Regions from separate parts of the Homo sapiens genome. Here regions 2 and 3 are each linked to region 1. The links are contacts of gene promoters, found by promoter capture Hi-C in blood cells and fetal thymus (Javierre and others, 2016). All regions are on one chromosome and are shown on one strand. Each heading gives the region's core, a stretch centred on a gene start or on the middle of the fragment in contact. The rest is flanking DNA. Distances are from core to core; before and after follow the strand shown. Region 1 holds the start of TAF2 (TATA-box binding protein associated factor 2). Region 2 has its middle 160 kb from the start of SNTB1. Region 3 has its middle 140 kb from the start of SNTB1.

Region 1 (4,163 bases), core at 1,200-3,699:
TGTGATCTGCCCACCTCGGCCTCCCAAAGTGCTGGGATTACAGGCGTGAGCCACCCGCCTGGCCTACTCCTACTTTTATTGTGTGGGTTAAATGAGACAATACATATAATGTACTTAATTTAATTAAAACTTAGAACCACTCCCCACCCTATCTCTCCCACAAACACCTACACTTACGCTTGTTGAGAAGACAGATTCAGGGGGAGAGAGAGAAAATAAGTACATAGTACTGTATCATAATATGTTCCCTAAAATATTCATGTTATATATTTTTTATTGTTCCTACAGAGATTTGTGTGGAGAGAAGCAAACCATAGGTGCATTACTCACTAAATATTCTCATTCTTCGATGCAAAATGGTGTTAAAGTTTATAATTCGAGAAGACCCATTTCTTAAAAGAACAACGGTCTTTTCTTCAGGACTCAAGTTGCTTTATAAAGTTGCTGGATAGAAGAAAAATAACTTGTACTTTTATTTCTGACTTTTAGAAACCTAGTCTTCTAAGGCATTTTTCTCCTCATCTTAAGCATTTTGAAACTACTGTTATTTCTTAAATGTTATAGGATGTAGCTTTAAAATTATATTTGTACTATGTACACAGTGTAAACAAGGACAAAAGAATTCTTTCCTATATTATGTCTGAGGTCTCTATGATTTATTTAAAGTTTGGCTTTTTATATTTAAAATGTCATTTCTTTACTTAGGATTTGATGTTCTAATCATTAATACACTTAAGTTTTCCAGAGAACTAAATAGTAATAGTTTCATAGAAGAGAACTATTTATTCACTTAAATATCATTTCTCAAGTGAGTGAGTTCCCCTCTACTTTTAGCCTTCCACCCAAACTGGAAGCCTCTAGGTGCTATCAATTATTTATATCCATCGTTTACATCCATGAAATTGGCTGAATAATTACTCCTCTGCCTGGCGTAGACATGCGCTTTGGGAAAAAAACGAGTTTATAATCCTATAATGAAGAATACTGGCACAGGCAATGCTCACTCGAAAACTTCAAGTAATTTCTAGTTGGTTTTGGAATGCTTGATAAAGTTCCTTTACAGCTTTATTTTCCTGATTTGTTTTGGTTTAGATCAAAGTTCAAATTAATTTTAACTTAGCTAATGAACTCATCACCAGGACAGTTGGAGGGGGTAGGCCGAGGTTAAATGGTCCACGTTTCAAAAATGTTAATGGCTAATCCATAATTAAAGAAGGTTTAACTGTTACTGAAGTTTACAAGTTTTATTGTCATGAACATGAAATACAAACACGATGGCTTCGAAATGTCTTTCAATAAATGTTTCTGCATTTATATGGATTATATGATATATATACACAGTCTATATATCTCTATGTAGTCTATTTATTTATTTTGAGAGGGAGTCTCGCTTTGTCTCCCAGACTGGAGTGCAATGGCATGATCTCAGCTCACTGCAAACTCGGCTTCCCGAGTTCAGGTGATTCTGGTGCCTCACCCTCCCGAGTGGCTGGGAATACAGGCGCACGCCACGACGCAGGGCTAATTTTTGTATTTTTACTAGAGACGGGCTTTCACCATGTTGGCCAGGCTGGTCTTGAACTGCTGACCTCAAGTGATATGACTGCCTCAGTTTCCCTAAGTGCTAGGATTACAGGCGTGAGCCACCACGCCTGGCCTGTAGTCTATATTTTATTCTTTTTTTTTTTTTCTGAGACAGTCTCAGCTCTGTCGCCCAGGCTGGAGTGCAGTGGAACGATCTCAGCTCGCTGCAACTTCCGTCTCCCAGGTTCAAGCAATTCTCCTGCCCCAGCCTCCCAAGTAGCTGGGATTACAGGCGTGCACCACCACGCCCAGCTAATTTTGTGTAATTTTTAGTAGAGACGGGGTTTCACCATGTTGGTCAGGCTGGTCTCGAACTCCTGACCTCAAATGATCGGCCCGCCTCGGCCTCCCAAAGTGTTGGGATTACAGGAGTGAGCCACTGCGCCCGGCCTTGTAATCTATATTTTAAAATAAATACTAAGGCAGCAGTGCCTAGTGAGAGCTGTGGAGTGCTGCAGTTTTGACATTTAGACTACCTGCAGTCTAATCACATATTTTACAGCTTAAATCACCGGACCCAGTGTGTCTGTTCACACAGCAAGCCAGAGGCACGCACCTCCTGATTTCGGGAGACTTCCCACCACCCCACCCCGCCCAGTTACTAGCACCCTGCCCCAGCCTATTTATACCTGGCTCTTCGCAAACTTTGTCCTCCATTCTTCTCAATATGCTTGTACTAGAAAACTACCTTCCCTCCTTTTCTTCCTGCTGTTCTCGCTTCATCCATTAAATAGTTTTTTCCCTATCCTAAATTTTAACAATTCTTTACGATAAGACACATGCGAAGATCGCAAGCCCTGCCCATTGACAAGACTTCCTGGTTCTACCCCCGCCGCCGTTCCACTTCCGCTGACGTCGGAGGTCAGAGGTTACAGACAAGATGTCGGCGGATGGTAGCTTCGAGCCCTTGCGGAGAGGAGCATCTCTGTGACAGAAGCTTGTCGACGGCGGCTTCTAGGAGCTAGTCGAAGGAGCGAGGTTGAGGCGGGCAGCGACCCGTCAGGTCGCTCACCTGGGCACCGGCCAGCTGCGAGACGTGACTTGGGGACCGCAGGGGAGTGGAGAGTGTGAGGTGCCAAAGACTAGTAATGCCCCGTATCCCCCTAGGAAGCCGGGAAGCCAAGCTCCGCGGGACCGCTTCATGCCGCTGACTGGTGTAGAGCCCGCCAGAATGAACAGGAAGAAAGGAGACAAGGGCTTTGAAAGCCCAAGGCCATATAAATTATAAGTATTTTTTCATTTCCCTTCCTTCCTTTTGGTTTTGTTGCCATTAATTATATTTTGCGATTGCTTGAAATTGACTTGGTGGGCCTGGGAAACCTAGTGGGAAACTAGAATTTACTCACTGTGATGGAAATGGTGTTTGTAAGGTAAAAATGTTTTGAATGACAGGTTATTCAGCAAATTTAATTCCCGTTGCAAGTTACTAAAGTTTTTGTCTAAGTACTAGATTGTATTTCTGTCAAATCTGTTTTCGTGACTGTTGCTAGATTTTAAAAAATTATCCCAATTGGTAGAGTGTTTTTTTTTTTTTAATTTTTTAATTTTTAAGACGGAGTCTCTCAGTCGCCCAGGCTGGAGTGCAACGGCGCGATCTCGGCTCACTGCAGCCTCCACCTGCCGGGTTCAAGCTTTTCTCCTGGCTCAGCCTCCTGAGTAGCCGGGATTACAGGCGTGTGCCACGATGCCCGGCTAACTTTTGTATTTTTAGTAGAGACTCGGTTTCACTCTGTTGGCCAGGCTGGTCTCGAACTCTTGACCTCGTGATCCGCTTGCCGTGGCCTCCCAAAGTGCTGGGATTACAGGCGTGAGCCACCGCACCAGGCCCCAATTCGTAGTTTTAAAATGAAATATTGACATGTAATTTTGAATTACTTAGAACATAGTCCTAATTTATACTTGGATAGAATTATACTTTGATTTAATAATAAAAATTATTTTTTCCTTATTTTCTTTTTATATTTATTAATATACAACCCATCAGGTCGTCTGCATCAACAACATAAATTTCCAGAGAAAATCTGTTGTGGTAAGTTTATTCTCAACAATTATAAATAGTAACAAGTCCACTATAAAGAGTAACAATCCACCCCTCACAGTACTTAGAAAGTTTGTAGTCTTCCAGATAATTGTGTTTCAAGAATAGGTAAGAATTAAAATTAGGGTCTGTATGATTACAAGTTCCATGGTCCTTCTATTAATACCTATTGCCTCCCAAATTCTCCCTTTCCTTTTTTTTCAATTTCCTAATTAAAATTTTATTCCTCTTTATCTGGTGTATAATATGAAAGCCTGTATAGCCAAGCATTTTATAATTGTGCATGAAACAAGTATAAGCCCATAGCGACATTTCTTCTATGAAAAAAATTAAGATTAATACACTCACTGACTTGGCTTCTAAGAGGCCATTTTTGCTTCTTGACTGACTTGGTTTAGGTGATGTTGCTTTGTAATGAAGTTTTAGATAGAGTATTTGAGATCTAGAAACCCTCTACCTCCCCCTGCCTCCCGACACAATTTAGATGTATGGATTGCTGATATAATCAATTTTAGGAAAAAGCTTGAACATTCAAGTTTTT
Region 2 (4,163 bases), core at 1,073-3,572, 1.1 Mb before region 1:
CTGATCTGATGAGCATAATGATGCTTATTTTATTTTGTTTTATTTTTTGAGACAGAGTCTCGATCTCTCACCCAGGCTGGAGTGCAGTGGTGCAATTTCGGGTCACTGCAACTTCTGCTTCCTGGGTTCAAGTGATTCTCACGTCTCAGCCTCCCACGTAGCTGGGATCACAGGCATGTGCCAAAACGCCTGTCTAATTTTGTATTTTTAGTAGAGATGAGGTTTAACCATGTTGGCCAGGCTGGTCTCCAACTCCTGACCTCAGGTGATCCACCTGCCTTGGCCTCCCAAAGTGCTGGAATTACAGGCGTGAGCCACCACGCCCGGCGGGAGGTGATCCTTTCTAGAAACAATCCCTTTGCCTCTCTGTGGGGCAACTTGGTCTAGAAAAAAAACAAAGATGACTCTGTAAGAAATCCAATGCATGGGCTAGTCTGGCTGGCCTCTGTGGTTACTACCGGAAGAATGCCAAGAATCTCACATCATGTGAGCTTGGAAGGGAATCCGTTGTCTCCCATCTTTATAGCAGATTCCAATCCCACGCCTCAGAGCTCCACTGGGCAGTCTCAGAGGTGGCTTCATTGTCAAGCCTGTTATTTACATCTGGTAGAAACATGCTGCTCCCCAATAAGGAGTAAATGTGGTTTGTGGAAAATCCTGGAACTGACTTCCACTGACACAGGACCTTGGGAAACTTTATGTCTCTGGATACCCAGACTTCTCAAGTGAGTTTCAAGTCAGGCTCCTGTTCTGAAATGTTGTAATTAAGCACATTTTTGGCTACTCATTTCCAGTTTCTTTCAATAAGAAGTTTAAAGTAGGCAGCACTTAGGTGAAAGGCATAGAGCTGGTATAGTTAAAGATGAATTCAAATTAGCCTCTGTTCTTAAGACAGGACCACCTATAATATTTGCAGGACTCAGTGTAAAATGAAGATGGAGAGCGACTTACTTGAAAAACGGTAAGAATTTCAAGATGGCAATAGCAAAGCATTGAGTCAAACGTGGATCCGTTGAAACATGGGCTACCGTGCAGCTTCACAGCTCTCATGCTGATGAAGCCAACCCTCGTAATCTAGTAGATGAGACAGACACAAAAGCAGCTACCTTATAAGCAAGAAAGATTGTTCAATGTTCACACAAGTAATGGGCTATCAGCATGTAATTCTAGGGGATCATCAGGGTAAGCACCCCACAGTAGGAGGTATTTAAACTGGACATTAAATGAGTGAAGACACTTTGATAGGTATACCGTGGGACAAAGTATATCTTTGGGAAACCGGAGAAGAAAAATACGGTGGTGTGACATGTTTGTTTAATAGAGAACAGGCCAAAAGGCCCCAGGGGCTGGAACGTAAGGTAGTGTAGGTGACCTGGCACCGGTACTGAGGATCCGGAAAAGTCACTTGAGGTCAATTACTTGGGTGATCCTGGGACCCAGAATTCCCTGACTTTTGACTTTATCTTGCATTGGATATACTGAGCCTTCCGAGATTTTTAAGTGGGAGAATGACACGCTCAGTCTTAAAATTCCAGTAAAACAAAATAACTCCAGTGCTAATGTGGCAAATGGATCAGAGAAGAAAAGCCAGAGACAGATAAAATTGTGAGAAAATAGTCACCAATGCCTAGGGAGGGAAAATGGGGCCCTGTATTACAGACAGAAAGGAGATTGATAAAAGATACTGCAGTGGGCCTTCCTCCTTTGAAAAAGAAAGGAAAATTGCCAGGAATTTATATATTTCTGAAATAATGACGTGAGGTGGGTGGATAGGTTATAAAAATTCATGCAGCATCCCTAAAGAACTGAATGCCAGGCTCAGGAAGCTTGTTCTTGGGCCCTGTCAAGCAATAGAACAAGCACAGACCACGCTAACATGTTCAAGTCTCGGGAGCTGTCACCAAGGTAAACTCAAAAATGTCACGGTCCAGGACCGAAGGACCCACCTGGAGCTGCCCTCAGCACTGTGTCCTTGTTCCAGTCCAGCTTCTGAGCTGTTGAGATGTAGACAGATCTGAAACATCTAGTTCTTACCAAAAGCTCAAGTTTAGTAGAGCTGGGCAAGCTCAAGAAAACTCAGAAATTATTTTTACATATTTTTCATAAAAACACTAGAATCATTACTAAAAAAAAAAAAAATAGTAGATGAGGGCCGGGCATGGTGGCTCATGCCTGTAATCCCAGCACTTTGGGAGGCTGAGGTGGGCGGATCACGAGATCAGGAGATCGAGACCTTCCTGGCCAACATGGTGAAAACCTGTCTCTACTAAAAATACAAAAAATTAGCTGGGCCTGGTGGCTCCTGCCTGTAATCCCAGGCAGGGGAAACGGTTGAACCCTGGGGGGCAGACATTTCAGTGAGCTGAGATCATGCCACTGCACTCCAGGCTGGCAACAGAGCGAGACTCCGTCTCAAAAAAAAAAAAAAAAAATTAGATGGTTAAGAACCAGAAAATTATTTTAAAAATTGCCTTTGTAGGATCTATTTAAATATCTAAAGCATCATTTTATTTAGGAGAAACTTTTAACAAATAAAATTTTGATACCAAAAAATAGATGACAAACATTAAAATATTGGTTTCTTGCTCTAATTCAAAGTAGAGATATCTGCAGCATATTACAGCTGAAACAATTGTATAGAAAGAGCCTGGTTGAAGACATGGTTCTGTAATATACAGTTGATCTGACCTGAGACAAGTCATTATGCTTCTCTGAGACTCTACTTCCTCACCTTGAATATAAGCATCGGATTACTTCCTTTGCAAACTTCCTAGAGTATTAAATCAGGCAAAGATAAGCAGATATACAACAAGCTTTGAAGGCTCCAACGGACTCTAGAAATCCTGGGTATTATTAGCAGTATTACAGATCTCAGTGGTCTACAACTTTTTATCTTACAGTTTTAATTTACTTCCTTATAACTAACATGGTCCCAAGAAAATGTGGAATGAACCTATTTGAATTGTTGTTGTTGTGTATGTGCTGTTTTATTTGTATTTTTTTTTTTAGTGAAATAAGACACACAGGAAATATTAGCAGACATCATAACAAGAGATTGGAATACAAGGAATAAATAGGAAGGCCTGCCAAGCTCTTCAGTGTCTAACAAAGAAAATATATTTCATTATGTTGTCTTCTGAGCATATGGGAAATGTTAAAATAAATGAACCCAACAAATACTTGTAAGTCTCATTTCTTTTGCTTCCCTGCCCCCCAACAGAAAACACTCATAAATCATTCATTTTATGTAAAACTAAAATTATTACCTCCTACTTGGCTGCTTCTGACTGTACAAACTGGTCATGTTATGTCCAACTGTTCCCAGCATCAAGAATTCAGCTGGCTCTTGCTCTAATATGTCTTAAGTTCACTAAGTTTATGTTTCTCCCACACCCACTAGACAGAAAAGCTCTTGAGGGCAGGGGCTGACTTCTCTGTAACCTCAGCTCCTCCTTCAGTGCCTGACATACCGTAGGTGCTAATTCAATGGTGAAGGAATGAGTGAGGATTAAATAATTCTTTTACCGTATGCACAGCCAGATTTTCTTTTTCATAATTATCAAATATTCATGAGTAGATTTTTCCTGTTATCAATTTTTTCCCCAAAGACGGCAAAGACTGGGTTGGATGCCTTAGTTAGGCATCCTTTAGTTTTTTTATATCTATGTAACAAACTTCACCTAATACACAAATTTCATCTTTACACAGCTGTAGTGAATATTAAATGGGTTTACACATGTAAAGAGTTTAGCACTTACATGATATGTCCTCAGTAAGCTAAAGATTACTATTATTCATCCATAAGAGGAACTGTAGTGGCTCTGAAGTCAGATTACCTGGATTCCTATCCTAATTCTCCTGTTGCTGCTATGCGATGTGACTTTATCTCTATAGTGGAGAAAAGTACTGCTCATCTCATAATACTGTAGGAGTTTCACATGAGATACTCTGTATGAAAATAATGCAAGAAAATTAAGCACATGCACAGTGCTGGAAACATAGTATGCAAATAATAAATACTAGAAAATAAAAAAAAATGCAAGAAACATGTGTTAATCACTTGCTATATACAAGACACTAGGCTAGCTACTCTGGGGGAAGAGATGTAAGATAAGACCCAGTCCCAAACCTTATGGGGTTTAGATTCTCAGCAGAATCTCAAT
Region 3 (4,163 bases), core at 814-3,313, 1.1 Mb before region 1:
TGATGTTGAAAGTGACTTGGTAGTCATAGGATTTTCCTAAGAGATTATCACAGGACAGGAAAGTGAGAGTCAGTGGATCAGAGAGGGCAGCAGGTAGCAAAAAAATGATGTTATCATTTTTTCTGTGCACCCAATTAATACTAGCAAGAAAATGGTTACACATGGTACTGAGAGTTCATAGTCCCAACAGCCAATATTAATACCAATATTAATATTGACCTCTGCCCCCACTGCTCCCTGAGCCACACAAAGCACTGTATGAGGCTCTCCATGCAAGCTCCGTGCCCTCCTTAAGCCAATCCCTTCCTGCAAGGAGGAGTTTCTCTACTTGGTCAGTCTGAGTCACGCACACATTCATGAATTGAAGACAAAGCCACAGGATTGAAGTTCCTACTGGTTCTATTGTAATCAAGTAGAGGGTTAAGAAGCATTTCCCAAAAGGAAGGGATGCTGAAAAAGAAAAAAAAAAAAAAAAAAGATGGACCTTACAATACCAAACGTGTGGCCTACCACATCAGCACACCCGTATTTACTTGTTCTGTTGTCAGTTGTCAGAAATCATCTACTTCTGCCTTTTAAACTAACCTACTTTTTAAACTTTTTTTCTTGAATAGTAGGATTGATTCAGAGAATCAAGGAGCAGGATGTCAGCAAGGCAGAGTAAACGTGAGGTAGACTTAAAGCAAACTGATGTAAATTTAATTCCTGGTTCTTCCAGCAACCTGTACTATTTGTGACAAATCACTTCATATCTCCAAGCTTTAAAACTTCTGTAAGTCTTACAAAATTAACCTTAAAAGAGGGAAAAATAGTCATTAGCCACATGAATGACCTCAAAAACAATTCAATACCTCCAAGCCTCACAAGTCTTTTGTTTTGTTTCGTTTTTCGTTGAGACGGAGTCTTGCTCTGCCTCCCAGGCTGGAATCAAGCAATTCCTTGCCTCAGCCCCCTGAGTAGCTGGGATTACAGGCGCCCACCACCATGCCCAGCTAATTTTTGTATTTTTAGTAGAGATGGGTTTTCACCATCTTGGCCAGGCTGGTCTTGAACTCCTGACCTCAGGTGATCTGCCCACCTCAGCCTCCCAAAATGCTGGGATTATAGGCGTGAGCCACTGCGCCCAGCCACAACTCTAAAAATCTTACAAAATAGGGCTAGGCACCATGGTTCATACTTGTAATCTCAGCACTTTGGGACGCTGAGGCAAGAAGATTACTTGAGCCCCAGCGTTTGCAGCTACAGTGAGCCATGATCATGCCACTGCACTACAGCCTGGGCAACAGTAAAACCCTGTTTTTAAAAACCATAAAAAAACTTACAAAATTAATCTAGAGAGAGAAAAGAATAGTCAACAGCCACATAACTGACCTCAGAAACAACTTTTACATATTTGATTTTCCTTAGATAAATAAGTATATAGTCTACATTATTGTGCATTCATTAGATTTTAAAGATAACATCAAGGAACATAAAACTCAACCTTATTTTGTTAAACAATAAAGATGTCTACTTTGTTCTATATAATAAACTGCCCAGGTAAAGGTTTAAATATAAGAGAAAAAAAGAAAAGTAGAAAGAGATAGAAACACCAAAAATTCTAAGAAAAAGGCAGAGACAAGCACAACGAAATTAAAAAGTCAAACCCAGAAAAACAAGCATCACAGAACCTGAGCAATACAGTGACTTCTATAGAATAGGAGCACCATCTTGTGGAAGGTAAGGATACTGCAGCTGAAGGCTTCTGATGCCTTACTCCATCTTCTCAACTATGCAACAATTGTAAACAGCAACATCACTTTCTTGGTACTTTTCCAATGAACCAAGTGAAATTAAGTAGAGGAACAAGACCCAATGTATGGACTGCAGGTTCCCCAATTCTTAGAGGAAATAATGGCTCATAGAATGTCTTCAAAACATCACAAATATGAGACACACATGAAAACATTCAGAATAAATCTAAAGGCAATGAAATTATAAGTGAGGCTGTCTTAATCTTAAGTTTTCTGTGACTTGTTTCACTGATCTCAATTAATTAGTGTATTTATTTGAATGTGAATATTTATAGAGTATATGTTATATACCCCAGATACCACTATGGCGGTGTGTGTGTGTGTGTTGCATGATTCCATTTATGTCAAATGTCTAAATAGGAAAATCCATGAGAAAGAAATTAGATTAACGATTTCCTAGGCTTGAGGTTTGGGAGCAAATGGTGGGGATGATGGCTAATTGGTACAGGCTTCCTTTTGGAAGTGTACCCTTTTGGGGGTGATGAAGAGGTCTTAAAATTGATGGCTGCTTGGGAGGCCAAGGCAGGCGGATCACCTGAGGTCAGGAGTTCGAGATCAGCCTGGCCAACGTGGTGAAACCCCATCTCTACTAAAAATACAAAATTTAGCCGGGCATGGTGGCACGTGCCTGTAATCCCAGCTACTCGGGAGACAGAGGCAGGAGAATCACTTAAACCCGGGAGGAGGAGGTTGCAGTGAGCTGAGATCACGCCACTGCATTCCAGCCTGGGTGACAAGACAAAACTCCATCTCAAAAAAAAAAAAAAAAAAAAAAAAAATTGATGGCTGCCATGGTTGCAAAGCTCATGAATGTAGTAAAAGTCACTGGAGTATTCACTTTCAAGGGGTGAATTCTATGGTAAATAAATTATATATAAATAAAGCTATTATCAAAACATGTATTTGTAAAGAAAATGCAGCAGAACTCATTGGGACATTTTTGAATATGTGTAATAAAGATAAAAATTTGCATTGATAAATATTTGTACATCATCCTTGTTAAAATATATGAATAAAATGTGTTCTGTGAAGGATTACCACTATTTGCTTGGTCTCTGTACCACACAGATCAGTCTGTACATATGATATAAAAACAAATTGTAATTTACTCCTACAGTCAAACAAATGTTGTTCTTTGACAGAGTGAACTCAAATCACTTACCTGTTTTGTGAAGCTGCCAGATACCACTTTGGGTGCTGGAGACACACCAGTGAATAATACAAGGGCCCTGGCCTTAAGGAGCTTTTGTTCCAGTGAGAGACAAATGATCAAGAAGCAAGTAATTGTAAAGTGCCATATGATATAAGATGTTATAATGCTAAATAAAGCGGTGTGGCAGACAGGAAGTGTAGGGATGAGGGAGGGGACTGCTGTTTTCTACAGAGTGGATAAATTAGTGAAAACTAAGCAGAGACATGAAATAAGCAAGGGAGTGAGTCATGTGGCTATGGAAGAAGGTAGAACCAAAAGCAGCTAATAAACGAGGTGCTTGGGCTCTGAAATCAGATATACCTGAGCCAGAATCCCAGCTCTGCCATTTACCAACTCTGTTACTTGAGCTCCCTAAGCTTCAATTTCTTCATCTACAAAATGAGACAAATAATGCATTATCCGATGTTGCAAAGGTTAAATGCATATAGAGTGCTTTTCACAGGGCCAGCCACATGACAAATGTACAGCAACTGTAGCCAACACCTATGTCAATTTGACCACGTGAACATGTAGATAGATATTTGAACACTCTTGTTTCATTTTTATGGGATTTTCAATAATAGCTAACATTTATTGAATGCTTACTCTGTACGTCTTAAAACCTCACAATGTCAAAAAAGGGTAACATTATTTTCATTTTATAGATGAAGAAACTGAGGCTTGATGAAGTTAAGTAGCTTGTTCATGTTCATGAACACAACTAACTGTGAGCCAGAAATTAGATAAAGGCCGTCTGACTACAGAATCTATACTGTTCGCCAGGATGCAAAACTAGCCCTCAACTAGAGTGCATGCAAACCAAGTGTCTGAAGCCAAAACCCAAACTCATACCTCCATTTCTTCCCACTCTGCTTAACGCTCACTCAGAATTACCTGATTTAATCATGCTACAATTCAAGTTTGACAGTTACACCAAAACTGCACATATATGCTGCCAAAACAAGTGGTCACTGTAAAGATTTCAAATTGCCTGGTCCAGTTGTTTTTCCATCCATAGAGAGCAACTTGTTATGGAGATGTGAAATCAATTTAGTCCACTGTAATCAACTTCTTTTGAAACATGGAATGGATAAAAACAGGAAGCACTACAGTCAATAACACACAGTAAGAATAAGTTTTGTTTGTTTTTTGTTTTGTTTTGAGATGGAGTCTTGCTC

Evidence for each region. The method cuts DNA at HindIII sites, captures the fragments that hold promoters and counts their contacts. A CHiCAGO score of 5 or more calls a contact.
Region 2: a contact is called between a fragment that was not itself captured here and the fragment with the promoter of TAF2 in region 1, in 1 of 17 cell types (naive B cells). The highest score is 5.5, in naive B cells.
Region 3: a contact is called between a fragment that was not itself captured here and the fragment with the promoter of TAF2 in region 1, in 1 of 17 cell types (total B cells). The highest score is 9.2, in total B cells.

What each region holds. Positions count from the first base shown.
Region 1 is chr8:119,831,127-119,835,289 of GRCh38, reverse strand. It overlaps TAF2 (TATA-box binding protein associated factor 2), which reads left to right and starts at 2,449. Exons shown (of 26, transcript NM_003184.4): 1 at 2,449-2,808; 2 at 3,559-3,613. The coding sequence starts at 2,726. It overlaps DSCC1 (DNA replication and sister chromatid cohesion 1), which reads left to right. Exons shown (of 9, transcript NM_024094.3): 9 at 289-1,314. The coding sequence ends at 397. It overlaps LOC105375728 (a long non-coding RNA gene), which reads right to left and starts at 2,411. Exons shown (of 4, transcript XR_928590.3): 1 at 2,214-2,411. RefSeq lists enhancers at 2,328-2,687, 2,748-2,797. The HindIII fragment of the contact is 3,868 bases long and covers 1-2,523 here.
Region 2 is chr8:120,967,499-120,971,661 of GRCh38, reverse strand. No RefSeq gene overlaps it. Among named protein-coding and RNA genes, the nearest start is that of SNTB1, 160 kb to the right of the region's middle. The HindIII fragment of the contact is 987 bases long and covers 1,829-2,815 here.
Region 3 is chr8:120,948,921-120,953,083 of GRCh38, reverse strand. No RefSeq gene overlaps it. Among named protein-coding and RNA genes, the nearest start is that of SNTB1, 140 kb to the right of the region's middle. The HindIII fragment of the contact is 2,603 bases long and covers 762-3,364 here.